Linked DNA regions of Homo sapiens: all the other regions are linked to region 1. Evidence: promoter capture Hi-C in 16 types of primary human blood cells and fetal thymus (Javierre and others, 2016). All regions are on one chromosome and are shown on one strand. The core of a region is centred on a gene start or on the middle of the fragment in contact, and the rest is flanking DNA. Distances in the headings are between cores, read along the strand shown. Region 1 holds the start of KATNB1 (katanin regulatory subunit B1). Region 2 overlaps SPMIP8 (sperm microtubule inner protein 8). Region 3 holds the start of CNGB1 (cyclic nucleotide gated channel subunit beta 1). Region 4 has its middle 71 kb from the start of KIFC3.

Evidence for each region. The method cuts DNA at HindIII sites, captures the fragments that hold promoters and counts their contacts. A CHiCAGO score of 5 or more calls a contact.
Region 2: a contact is called between a fragment that was not itself captured here and the fragment with the promoter of KATNB1 in region 1, in 1 of 17 cell types (M1 macrophages). The highest score is 5.6, in M1 macrophages.
Region 3: the fragment with the promoter of CNGB1 here is called in contact with the fragment with the promoter of KATNB1 in region 1 in 1 of 17 cell types (M0 macrophages); the score reaches 5.2 in M0 macrophages.
Region 4: a fragment that was not itself captured here is called in contact with the fragment with the promoter of KATNB1 in region 1 in 1 of 17 cell types (M0 macrophages); the score reaches 6.5 in M0 macrophages.

Annotation. Positions count from the first base shown.
Region 1 is chr16:57,734,386-57,737,218 of GRCh38, forward strand. KATNB1 (katanin regulatory subunit B1) reads left to right here and starts at 1,385. Exons shown (of 20, transcript NM_005886.3): 1 at 1,385-1,470; 2 at 2,593-2,833. LOC107984852 (a long non-coding RNA gene) reads right to left here and starts at 2,259. Exons shown (of 2, transcript XR_001752221.3): 1 at 2,051-2,259; 2 at 1-1,222. RefSeq lists enhancers at 1-213, 843-952, 932-1,226, 973-1,142, 2,511-2,580 and a silencer at 1,453-1,692. The HindIII fragment of the contact is 9,286 bases long and covers 1-2,215 here.
Region 2 is chr16:57,987,406-57,990,238 of GRCh38, forward strand. It overlaps SPMIP8 (sperm microtubule inner protein 8), which reads left to right. Exons shown (of 8, transcript NM_199456.3): 8 at 1-711. The coding sequence ends at 21. Among named protein-coding and RNA genes, the nearest start is that of ZNF319, 12 kb to the right of the region's middle. The HindIII fragment of the contact is 1,218 bases long and covers 732-1,949 here.
Region 3 is chr16:57,969,755-57,972,587 of GRCh38, forward strand. It overlaps CNGB1 (cyclic nucleotide gated channel subunit beta 1), which reads right to left and starts at 1,374. Exons shown (of 33, transcript NM_001297.5): 1 at 1,306-1,374. The HindIII fragment of the contact is 12,254 bases long and covers 1-2,833 here.
Region 4 is chr16:57,872,371-57,875,203 of GRCh38, forward strand. No RefSeq gene overlaps it. Among named protein-coding and RNA genes, the nearest start is that of KIFC3, 71 kb to the left of the region's middle. RefSeq lists an enhancer at 764-1,291. The HindIII fragment of the contact is 1,231 bases long and covers 871-2,101 here.

The sequences.
Region 1 (2,833 bases), core at 135-2,634:
TATTCTGCTAATCTTTTAAAGGTGTCTTGCGGTGACTCACGCCTGTAATCCCAGCACTTCGGGAGGCTGGGGCGGGTGGATCACCTAAGGTCAGGAGTTCAAGACCAGCCTGGCCAAAATGGAGAAACCCCGTCTCTACTAAAAATATAAAAACTAGCCTTAGCCCGTCGTGGTGGCGGGCGCCTGTGGTTCCAGCTACCCAGGAGGCTGAAGCAGGAGAATCTGAAGCAGAAGGCTGAAGCAGAAGGCAGAGTGGGGACTCCCCCACGCTTTGGCTTTCAGAACAAGGGTTCGAATTCTGGGGCTATTACTTTCTGACCGTGTGGTTTTCTGCAAGCATCTTAACCCGGGCCTCAGTTTCCTCATCTGTAAATGGGAACAGGAATTCCTACCTCTTATGGTTGTACTGGGCGTTATGTGAGCCCAAGGAGCCCTGACCTGCGGTGAGAGGCTGGAGGCCGAAGGGCAAGGTTCGAGGGGCTCTGGGTGCCTGGGACAACCTCTGGGCAACAGGGAGAGGCGGCTGCGGGGCCAAGTCCCTCCTAAGCGGCCACGCGAGAGGCCCTGAGTCGAGAAGGGTTACGGCGCTTCCCAGAGCCCACCCCGCCCAACGTGTCACAAATAAAGCTGGCCTTTCTCCGATTCCCTGATTGCAGCCATTCAGGGAGCAGCCCCTTGCCCACGCATCCATTAGTCGAGGCGGTGGCTGCGTGTGCAGTGCTACAGGGTTCAGCGCCTGCCTCGGCTCCGGAATCAGGCTGTTTCCTTCTAGACCTCCCATGGGGGATTCAAGCCGGCGTCCGGGTCAAAGAACAGGGACAAAGTCCTCCTGCCACGGGGGACCATCTGCAGGCAAAGTGAAGAATGAGGAGCTTCGGCAAAATGCCGACTAAGGCCTCCTTAGGTTTTGCCCCACTCCAAGATGGAAGGCCTGAGGCTTCACACTGCCCCCGAAGTTCCTTTCCCATTGGCTATCTGGGAATTGAGTTTTCCAATAATGCGGACGCTGATTGGTCAATCCAGGACGGTTGCTCAAGCCATTGGCGCAGCCGCCATTGGAGGGCGGCTCTCAAAAGTTTTCAGACACAAATTAGGTTCGAGGGAGGAAACGGAGAGGAAAGGGAAAACTTGAGACGGAGGCGGGACTAAGGAAACGGCAGCTTGCATTGGTTTATTAGAGGCCAAGGGGCGGCTCTTGAACGTTCCTTCCTCTTGATTAGTCCTATTTAGGAAAAGAGGGCGGGTACTGAGGAAAAGCGGCAGAAGCGCCTGCTTCCATTGGTCAGTCCTGGCAGGAGGCGGAGCACCCGCGGCAGCTGATTGGTGCGGGAGGCAAGGTGGGCGGGGCTCTGAGCCGGAGGTTTTGTTGTGAGGGTCGGTTGTCAAGCAGCGGCCAATCAAGGCAGGGGATGGAGGCAAGTGGGGGTCGCGCCTGGAGCGGAGCCTCGGCCTCCGGAGCCGCAGCTGCAGGTGGAGTGGGCAAGGGGACGAGGTGGCGAGGGGACGGTGGGCCCTGGGCTGGGCCGAGCCAGGCGGGGCTGGCTGGGCTTGCGGGCAGAGAGCTCTGAGCGTGGGGAGGCTAGAGCCCGTACTCCGCAAGCAGAGGGTTGGGAGGATCAGCCGTGGCCGAGGGACCTGCCCCCGCCCCCGGACGAGAGGGGTCGGGGTGGAGGCCGGAGGGGGCAAAACCAGGGAGGCCGGAAGCAGAGCTGGGGGTCTGCAGAAGGACAGGTAATGAATAGGGAGAAGAGAAGTAGGAGAATGAATGAATGGGAGACCCCGCGAGCATATGGGAAAGGGCAGTAACGGGAGTCTGGCGAGGCAGGGGCCACGTGAGGGATATCGGGAGACAGGATGTGCATAAGTGGGAGACTCAGGGGGCAGGGAGAAAAGGGGGTGTGAACGGAGGACTAGAGAGGCAGACCCGGGGACCCAGGAGAAAGGGGACGGAGGGGAGCGGGCTCATGGGAAAGAGGTGAAGTGGCTGTGGGAAGGAGGTGGGAGGCTCCATGAGGAGGCCTTTTAGAGTTGAAGAGTCATAGCCACTTACGCCCAGACTGGAGGCCTAGTTCCTAGCTCTGTCCTTGGGAATCGCAGGGAGCAGGAGCGGTTCCCTTGCCAGGAGCTGGGGAATTGGACCATCAGGGTCGTCTTCGAGATTCTTTCCAAGGAGGACTTCAGTGGCCGTCTCTGGGATGCCTTTCCTAGGCCCCTAAGCTTAGCTTCTGACTCCGCTCTCCCACATCCCACACGTCAGACAAAAACAACGACTCGCAGGAAATCTATGTGAATTGCAGACACGTGGTCTTCTCCGCCCCACTGCGGCTGCTGCACTTTAGGCAGCCAGCATCCCGGAACAGAGCTGCAGCTCATTATCCTGGCCTCTGGGAGGAGTTTCTTTTTCCTTACGTTCCAAATCACCCTACCTGAGGTGCCCCCTCTGCAGATTCCCAAACCTAATTTGCAGTGCAGCTTCTGACTCTGGTGGCTTTGGTGGGTGTCAGTCTTTATCAAGTGGTCTTGGTGATCCAGGGAGCAACAGCTCTTACCAAGCATTTTCTAACATGACGTCACCTCTTGTTTGTATTGCAGCCCTGTATTGAGCTGAGATGGCTCGAGCCTAACATTCCATGATCCAGGATCGTGACAGATGTGCACAGGCTGCTGCTGTTGCTGCTGTGGGTAATTTGGAACCACGAGGCACCCCAGGGCCAGAAGACGAGGCATTCTGTCTGCCTGGATGTGTGGGAACTCTCTGCCAACTTGATTGGTGGATCTGGGGGGGGATCCACCCCCACCCCACGAGGAAAGCACAGTTTATTTTGTGGGTGGG
Region 2 (2,833 bases), core at 91-2,590, 250 kb after region 1:
TACCTGACCCCCTGGCATTAATCTCTGGAAAGGAGGCTGACTCCCAGGCTGCCGGACGGTGCCACCTCAGGTCCCCTGGCCAGACAGAGGACTTATGGTGGCACCAGCCATCTCCCCAGGAGTTCAGCCTAACTAGAAATAAACCTAATGCTCCCTTAGAGACACACGCAATTGTCTCTGTCTGTGTGTGTTGCACAGCCTGGGAGAGGGTCAGGGCCACAGGATGACAGTATCTTACCCTTGCCCGTCCCCGGCCAACTCCTGGAGGACTGGTGGGGGGTTGGAGAAAAATGTCTGGTGACCTGGTTTGAGAGTCAGGGTGTAAGCCGCAAGGTCCAGCCAGAATTGAGATCCAAGAGCAAGAGATGTGCTCCAGCCCCTTGCCTGCAGCCCCACACCCAAGCCCCCTCCATTTCAGATCCTGAATTTGAGCCCTAAGAAGAAAGGGAGAGGGCTAGAAAGCTATTTTTAGGTGCCTTTTTGAAGCTCTTGTCATACTGGTGTGCTCTGGGGGGCTTCCCTGTGCCTGGGGTCCCCCTGAAGGTGTGGGAGCAGGCTGGGGCAAGGGGAGCTGGCCAGGCCTATGGCCTTGATTCCTGTGACGCAACAGAATGTAGAGTCTAAACTTGCATGAGATGCATGAAGCCACTCAGAGAAGAAAGTTCCCCGCTCTCCAAAGCACCACCAATAAACATGTCATTTAAGCAAAAAGTCCTCTGCTCTATCCATGAAGCTTCAGGACTAGCCCTTGTCTACCCACCAACCATCCATTCCAAGCCACTCCTGTGAAAGGAAGGTATGATGTCCCGGGGACAGTGTGGGGACTCCTGGCCCAGGTCTGGAATAACGCCATCCAGGGGGCTAGGGAAGAGCATCTCCAGCATGGTAAGGGGGTGTATTAGTCTGTTTTCATGCTGCTGATAAAGACATACCCAAGACTGGGAAGAGAAAGAGGTTTAATGGACTCACAGTTCCACATGGCTGGGGAGGCCTCATAATCATGGTGGAAGGCAAAAGGCACTTCTTACATGGTGGCAGCAAGAGAGAATGAGTGCCAAGCGAAAGCGTTTCCCTTATAAGACCATCAGATCTCGTGAGACTTATTCACTACCACGAGAACAGTATGGGGGAAACCGCCCCCGTGATGCAATTATCTCCCACTGGCCCCCTCCCACAACATGAAGGAATTAAGAGCGCTACAATTCAAGATGAGATTTGGGTGGGGACACAGCCAAACCATATCAGGGAGTTAGGGCTGCTAGCATCTGTGCTTAGCTCCAGGACCTTTCAGATACCCTACTCCCATCCCACCTGTGGGCAGCTGGCAAGCATGGACCCAGATCAGGATAAATAGCTACCAAGCTAAAAATCTACCTGCATAGGACTTCTGGTCCTGAAACCTGGGGCTTCAGGGACCCACAGACCTCCTGAAATCATGTACAGAATCATGTGTCCACTTTGGGACTGCACTTGGGAAGCCACTGGCAGAGCCGCCTGGAGTGTCAGAGCCACATTCTGTGCCACCCAGTGTCCCCTCCAAATGACAACTCAGAGAAGAGCTGGACTTGCCCAGGGCTCACAGCAGGGATGCTAGAATCCTGGCCTGGGAGAGGTGGGCCAGCCAGAGAACCCCAGCAGACATGCTGAAGCCTGCCAGATGGCATCAAGTGACTGGGGTGTTTTTCCTGGCCCTGCTTCCTTGAATGACTGGGCAAGTCCCTGCCAGAATACAGCCCAGCGAACACTAAAGAGCTTTGCCTGGGCCAGGCCCTTTGCTGGTGCTGGGAGGACACAGACAAGATGCCCTCCCTGCCTTTGAAGTGCCTCCAGCCCAGCAGGCCCAGCCAATGAGAACCTGAAAGTAGAGGTGATCACATGAGTACACACATAGACCATGTTCTCCCAGCCCAAACCCCATGAATGGCAACCCACACCAGCAATTTAATTAAAGCTTCTTGCCCACTGATTGTAAATTTAATCCTGATTTCAATAATATAAATAGATTATAAAATATATAAATATAAATATGTATATGTATATATGTAATAATATATATTTATATAAAATATAAATATAAAAAATGTGTGCCTAAGAATAAAGGAAATGCAGAGTACATAAGCATAAATGAGTCTGCTTTCACGTACAATTTCTATTTTTAAGTGGAAGGCAATGCATTAACCATCTTGCAGACCCCATGAGATGGGTAATTTTACACCCATTTTACAGATGATGAAATGGACTCAGGAAGGTTAAGCGGCTGGCCCAAGATCTGGTGATTGGCAGAGCTAAGAATTGAAGCTGGCCTGCCTAAGCCCCCCATCCCCATCCCCCGCCTCTGGCCACCAGGCTCTACTGCCTGCCTGCTACCAGACAGATCCAAACCAAGAATGGGGAAGAAACCAAAGGGGGCTTCCTGGGGGTGGGGGCATCTGACCAGGGCTTAGAGGGAGGATAGGACGTCCCATCAGAAAGCTCTCTTGGGGCCGGGCAGGCTGGCTCACACCTGTAATCCCAGCACTTTGGGAGGCCAAGCGGGCGGACCACCTGAGACCAGGAGTTCGAGGCCAGCCTGGCCAACATGGCAAAACCCCATCTCTACTAAAAATACAAAAATTAGCTGGATGTGGTGGTGCACACCTGTAATCCCAGCTACTCTAGAGGCTGAGGCAGGAGAATCACTTGAACCCAGGAGCCAGAGGTTGCACTGAGCCGAGATCGAGCCACTGCACTCCAGCCTGGGCATCAGAGCAAGACTCCATCTAAAAACAAACAAAAACAAGAAAGCTCTCTTGGAGTTGCTGGCAGTGGCAGAATCTGCAGGTTGAGAATCCCA
Region 3 (2,833 bases), core at 124-2,623, 240 kb after region 1:
GGAATGGGGAGCCCCAGCCCTTATGACTGAACCCCTGCAGGATGGCCTGGCCAGTGCGCAGCGTGCAGGTCAGTGTGTGCTAACTCCTAGCCCTAGATGTGTTCTTGCCCCACATGAGTGTGCCCCACCCCTCTCCCAGCCATGGGCAACCCGGGCTTTGGCAGAGAGTCTGTATGCCCCTTTCTGCCAGGGACCCTGGCCCCAGCTGAAGAGGGCAGCCCAGGCCCAGGATCCTTGCCCCCAAGCCCAGCTCCCCAGAGCCCACGGCTGTGCTGCCTGTCCTCTACTTACAGCCCTGACCTCTGTTCCCACTCTGGCATCAGCAGCCCAGCCTCTCCCACGAGAGGCTGTGGTGGGAACACAGCTCTAAGTGTCAGATCCCTGGCTCAGCCTCCCAAAAAATGAACTTGGGCCAGACATGACCCCTCTGGTCTTCCATTTCCCTGAAGGTGGGGGCACAGACACAATGTTTTCCCAGGTCGGGACTGCCAGAGCTCACATGTTGGGATAGCAGATTTCACTGACCCCAGCCAGCCCCAGGCAGCCCCGAGAGCCAGGGCTGAGCTAAGTGCATTCTACCCATGATCATACTCATCCTCGCTCTCACCACCACGCCCCGCCCAGCCCCTGCACTCAGTAAAATAAGAATTTTCATTATGTAGCACAGAAAGGTCAACAGAATCGCCTGAAGCAGCACAGCCGGCAGTGGCCAACTTGAGTTTACACTCAGGTCTGCCCGATTCCAGCTGCCCCACATGTATTCCCAGGTAGTCGTGGCATTTGCCGAGTGTTGGCCTCTTCCGCGGGCCAGGCCTGTAGACCCTTCCCAGCAGGCAGCAATTCTCGCTTGCATTTCTAAACCTTCTGGAAATGACTAAGGAAGCCTCCCCGATCCCCCATTTTTCTTTTTCCTCCTAAATGAGAATTTTTGCAGGTCCCTCCCATCTTTCACCCGTGTCCCTGCTGACTGCACTTTGATGAGGGAGGCTCAGGTGGGAAGGGGGACCCACGAGTGGCAGCTCGGGGAGCCATGGTGTTGCACCACCAGCATTTCCAGAGTCTTCTGGAGAGCTAGTGAAAATATAGATTCCTAGGTCCCCCAAGTCCTCCTGGGGGACCTAGGAATTTGCATTGTACAAGCTGTCCTGAAAATTCTGATGCCCGCTAAAGTCCAAGCTCCACCAGATAGAGGGAAGCCACAGGTTTCCCACCGTGCCAGTTTGGTCCTACCTAAATGCCTTTCTAGAGGGAGAACATGGGGATCCCCTCGGGGTCCCACCGAGCCTCCACCTCACCCTGAGTTACCTGCTTAGATGCCAACCGCCAGCCAGGAATTGCCTTCTTGCTGCCACTCGTAGCTGGCCCCTCAGACACAAGGAAGATTAATTGGCAGTAGCTGGGCCGTGTGCAAAGGATTAGCAGGTGCTGAATGGGGGAGGGGGAGAAAAGAGGCTGTTGATGCCCAGGAAACCAGCAGCACCTCCCAACTCCCAGGGTCCAGCAAGGATGTGGGCCCCAGGGAAGGGCTCCTGCATGGCCCAGGTTTGGAGCACCATGGGTTGCCAGGGGACCTGCCCGGCTTACCAGGGGCCTGGCTTCCCATACACCTTGGCCAAGACACGGAGTGGCTGATGGGAGAATAACAGCTTGGAGTTCCCATGTGATGCCTGGAGACTCCTCATGGTAGCAGGGGCTTGTCAGCTCCCACTCAGCGGTGGCAAGAGGTGTACCCCAACTCTCCAGCCCCCAGGCCAGGACGCAGGCAGGTTCTTTCTGGCTTAGAGTCTTCTCTGGGCAGGGTCTCAGCAGCCCTGCCTTGGGCTCTGCCAGAAAGGCTGTGTCCCAGGCCTGGGCCTTGAGGATGGATCCAAGACCCGGCAGATGACTGAGGCATCTGACCTGCCCTGTGAACTGAGGCTGGACACTTGAAGGGATACAGAGATCTAGGAGGAGAGGGTGCAAGGGACAGGGCCCAAGGAAGAGGGGCTCAGTGTGGTGGCCCTGAGGGATATTTGGCAAAGGGCAGGACTTGACTTAATTATCCGCACCATTTCTAGAGTTCTTCCTTTCCTTTCCTTTCCTTTTTTTTTTTTTTTTTTTAAGCCACAGTCTCTCTCTGTCACTCAGGCTAAGTGAAGTGGTGCAATCACAGCTCATTGCAGCCTCAACCTCTCAAACTCCTGGATGCAAGCAATCCTCCTGCCTCAGCCTCTCATAGTATTGGGATTACAGATGTAAGCCCCTGCACCTGGCCTAGAGCTCTTCCTTTGTGCCTGGCAGTGTGCCAGCCTTGGCACACTGAGCAAGACAGACATAGGCCCTGTCCTCATGGAGCTTACATTCCAATGGAGGAGATTACTGACAAATAAAGAATATTGCAAATTATGCTAAGTGCCATAAAAGAAACAAACAGGGCAGAAGCATGTTGTGGAGGGCAGTAGGGGCAGGTAGGCAGGCCCCTATGACGAGGTGGATGTATATTTGAACTGAGACATGAAAAGTAAGAAAGACTCAGCTGTGAAAAAAGCTGGGTGAGTGGTGCTCCAGGCCAAGGACACTGCAACGAGAAAGGTTCTGAGGCTGGAATGAGCCTTGAGGAGCAGAATGGGAACCGGGGAGCCTGGAGCTTAACGGGTGCAGGGGAGAGTGGTGGGAGATGAGGTTGACAGAGGGCAGGGGCAGATGTTGTGAGACTGTAAGCCACAGGAAGGAGTGTAGTTTTAGATGATGGTTTTGAACAGGGGCTGGGCATGATCTGTGTGGCTCTGTGTAGCAGGCAAGCATGGAAACAGGAAACTGGTCAGGAGGCTGCGGAGGGACAAGCTGATTGGTG
Region 4 (2,833 bases), core at 236-2,735, 140 kb after region 1:
TCTAATTTTTTTTTTGAGATAGGGTCTCTCTCTGTCCCCCAAACTGGAATGCAGTGGTACCATCACAGTTCACTGCAGCCTCGACTTCCTGGGCTCAAGCAATCCTCACACCTCAGCCTTCTGACTAGCTGGGACTATAGGCATGTGCCACCACCCCTGGCTAATTTTTATTATATATATATATTTGGTGGAGTCGGGTTTTCGCCATGTTACCTAGACTGGTATTGAACTCCTGGGCTCAAGTGATCCTGCTGCCTCAGCCTCTCAAAGTGCTGTGGTTACAGGTGTGAGCCAGCGCACCTGGCCCTGATTTTAAAACTTATTACTTACATTTGACTTATATGTGGAAGTTTTCCATGGTATCTGAATTATTCTTTTGAACCTGCCTGGAAACACTTCACGTGACCCTCTCCTCTACCCACTTTTCATTAAGGAACACTTGATTTCAGAAATTTGGAAATGCGGCTGGGTGCGGTGGATCATTTGAGGTCAGGAGTTCAAGACCAGCCTAGCCAGCATGGTGAAACACTGTCTCCACTAAAAATACAAAGATTAGCCGGGCGGTAGTGGCGCGCACCTGTATTTCTAGACACTCTGGAGGCGGAGGCAGGAGAATTGCTTTAGTCTGGGAGGCGGAGGTTGCGGTGAGCCAAGATTGCACCACTGCACTCAAGCCTGGGCGACAGAGCGAGACTCTGTCAAAAAAAAAAAAAAAAAAAAAAAGAAAAGAAAAAAGAAAGGAAGGAAGGAAGGAAAGAAAAGGAAGAAATTTGGAAATGTGAAAGGTGGGGACCCAGTCTCCCGAGACTCTTGATAATGCGCTCTGGAGCCATTTGTCTAGTTAACTGCCTTGATTAGAAAGGATCCTAAAGCTTCTCTCACCTCCCTCCGGGAGACGGCCAAATGGCCACAGCCGAGCCTAGGTCTCTTGGCTAGCTCCAAAATGCCGGGAAGACTCCGGCGCTATCTCCCTAGGTATTTATATGTCAAAGGGAGAAAGTCCCAGAACTTGAAGACCCCTCCAGGTGGTTAAAGCTGAGACACCTGGGGCTATCTCGTTCCGGGTGAGGCTTTATTTACATATCAAAGGGCTGGGGTTAGGTTTCGGGCCCATTAAGTTTCCAAGGAGACCCTTTCAAAAAGGGAGGGGAATAGCTACCTCCTTCGCCTTTATAAGCAGAGAAAACTTGTCCTTCATCTATGGAGTGTCAGGCTACTTGCACGGGACATTTCCTGGCCAGGAGTAAGGCTTAAGGGGAGGCTGGGAGCGGAGGCTATGTACTTATTATTTGCTAAAAGGTAATTAATATAAAATCTGTCTCTGATCCCAAACACCTGTGTGTGTGCATTCAGGATAAAATTAATAAAGATAAATATTAAAAAACCACTGGCAGGCCAGACGTGGTGGCTCACATCTGTAATCTCAACACTTTGGGAGGCCAAGATGAAAGGATTGTTTGAGTTAGGGAGTTCGAGACCAGCCTGGGCAACATAGGGAGACCCCCGACTTGTCCCCACCACCCCCTATCCCCCGTCTCTACAAATAGTTAAAAAAAAATAGCCAGGTGTGGAGGTGCATGTCTGTGGCAGGAGGATCACCTGAGTCCTGGAGGTCGAGGCTGCAGTGAGCTGTGATTGAACCACTGTACTCCAGCGTGGGTGACAGAGCAAGACCCTGTCTCAAAAACAAGAACAATGAAACACTGACAGGACAGGCTGGACGTGGTCGTACATGCCTGTAATCCCAGCAAGGAGGCAGAAGGATTGCTTGAGGCATGGAGTTCTAGACCAGTCTGGGCAACATAATGATACCCCATCTCTATAAAAAACAAAAACCACTAACAGCAGCCTGGGGTGGGTGCTTTCCCTCTTCCTCCACCAATCATGATTGGCTCTGGAGAAGGGGCATGCCAGGATGGCTCTGGCCCAAGGTTGGCCCTAGAGGGTGCAGCCCCAATTGCTCTGGGCAGGAGAGACACTCATCCTCACCTTGCAGAATTGCCAGATAAAAACACAGGGCACCAAGTTGAATTTGAATTTTGGATAAATAACAATTTTTTTTAGCATAAGTATATCCCAAGTATTGCATGAGATATACTTAAGCTTAAAAAAAAAAACCTTCATTGTTTATCTGAAATTCAAATTTACCTGGGCTTTCTGTATTTTTACTTGCTAAATCTGGAACTCAACCATGGTGACCAGGGAAGAGGACCCCCTGGAGATGCCAACACCTTATGCCCATTGAAAGAATAATACAAGGGCTAGGAGCAATGGCTGACGCCTGTAATCCCAGTACTTTGGGAGCCCAAGGTGGCAGGATCACTTGAGGTCAGGAGTTCGAAACCAGCCTGGCCATCATGGTGAAACCGCATCTCTACCAAAAATACAAAAATTAGCCGGAAATCACTTGAACTCGGGAGGCAGAGGTTGTAGTAAGCTGAGATCACGCCATTGCACTCCAGCCTGGGCAACAGAACAATACTCCATCTCAAAAAATAAATAAATTAAATAAGGGCACTCAGGCCGTCTTTCTTTTCATTTCAGAAGAGATATCGAAGGAGATAGTGCTCAGGAAATTGAATCTAGGAAATGTTACTCACAATTTTTTGGTTACAATGAGTTTATCAAGCATCCTTTGAATCTTCTTCCTTTTTTTTTCTTTTTTTTTTAACAGAGTCTTGCTCTGTCACCCAGGCTGGAGTAGTACAGTGGTGTGATCTCGGCTCACCACAACCTCCACCTCTCGGGTTCAAGCAATTCTCCTGCCTCAGCCTCCCGAGCATCTGGGACCACACACGCGTGCCACCACGCCCGGCTACTTTTTGTATTTTTA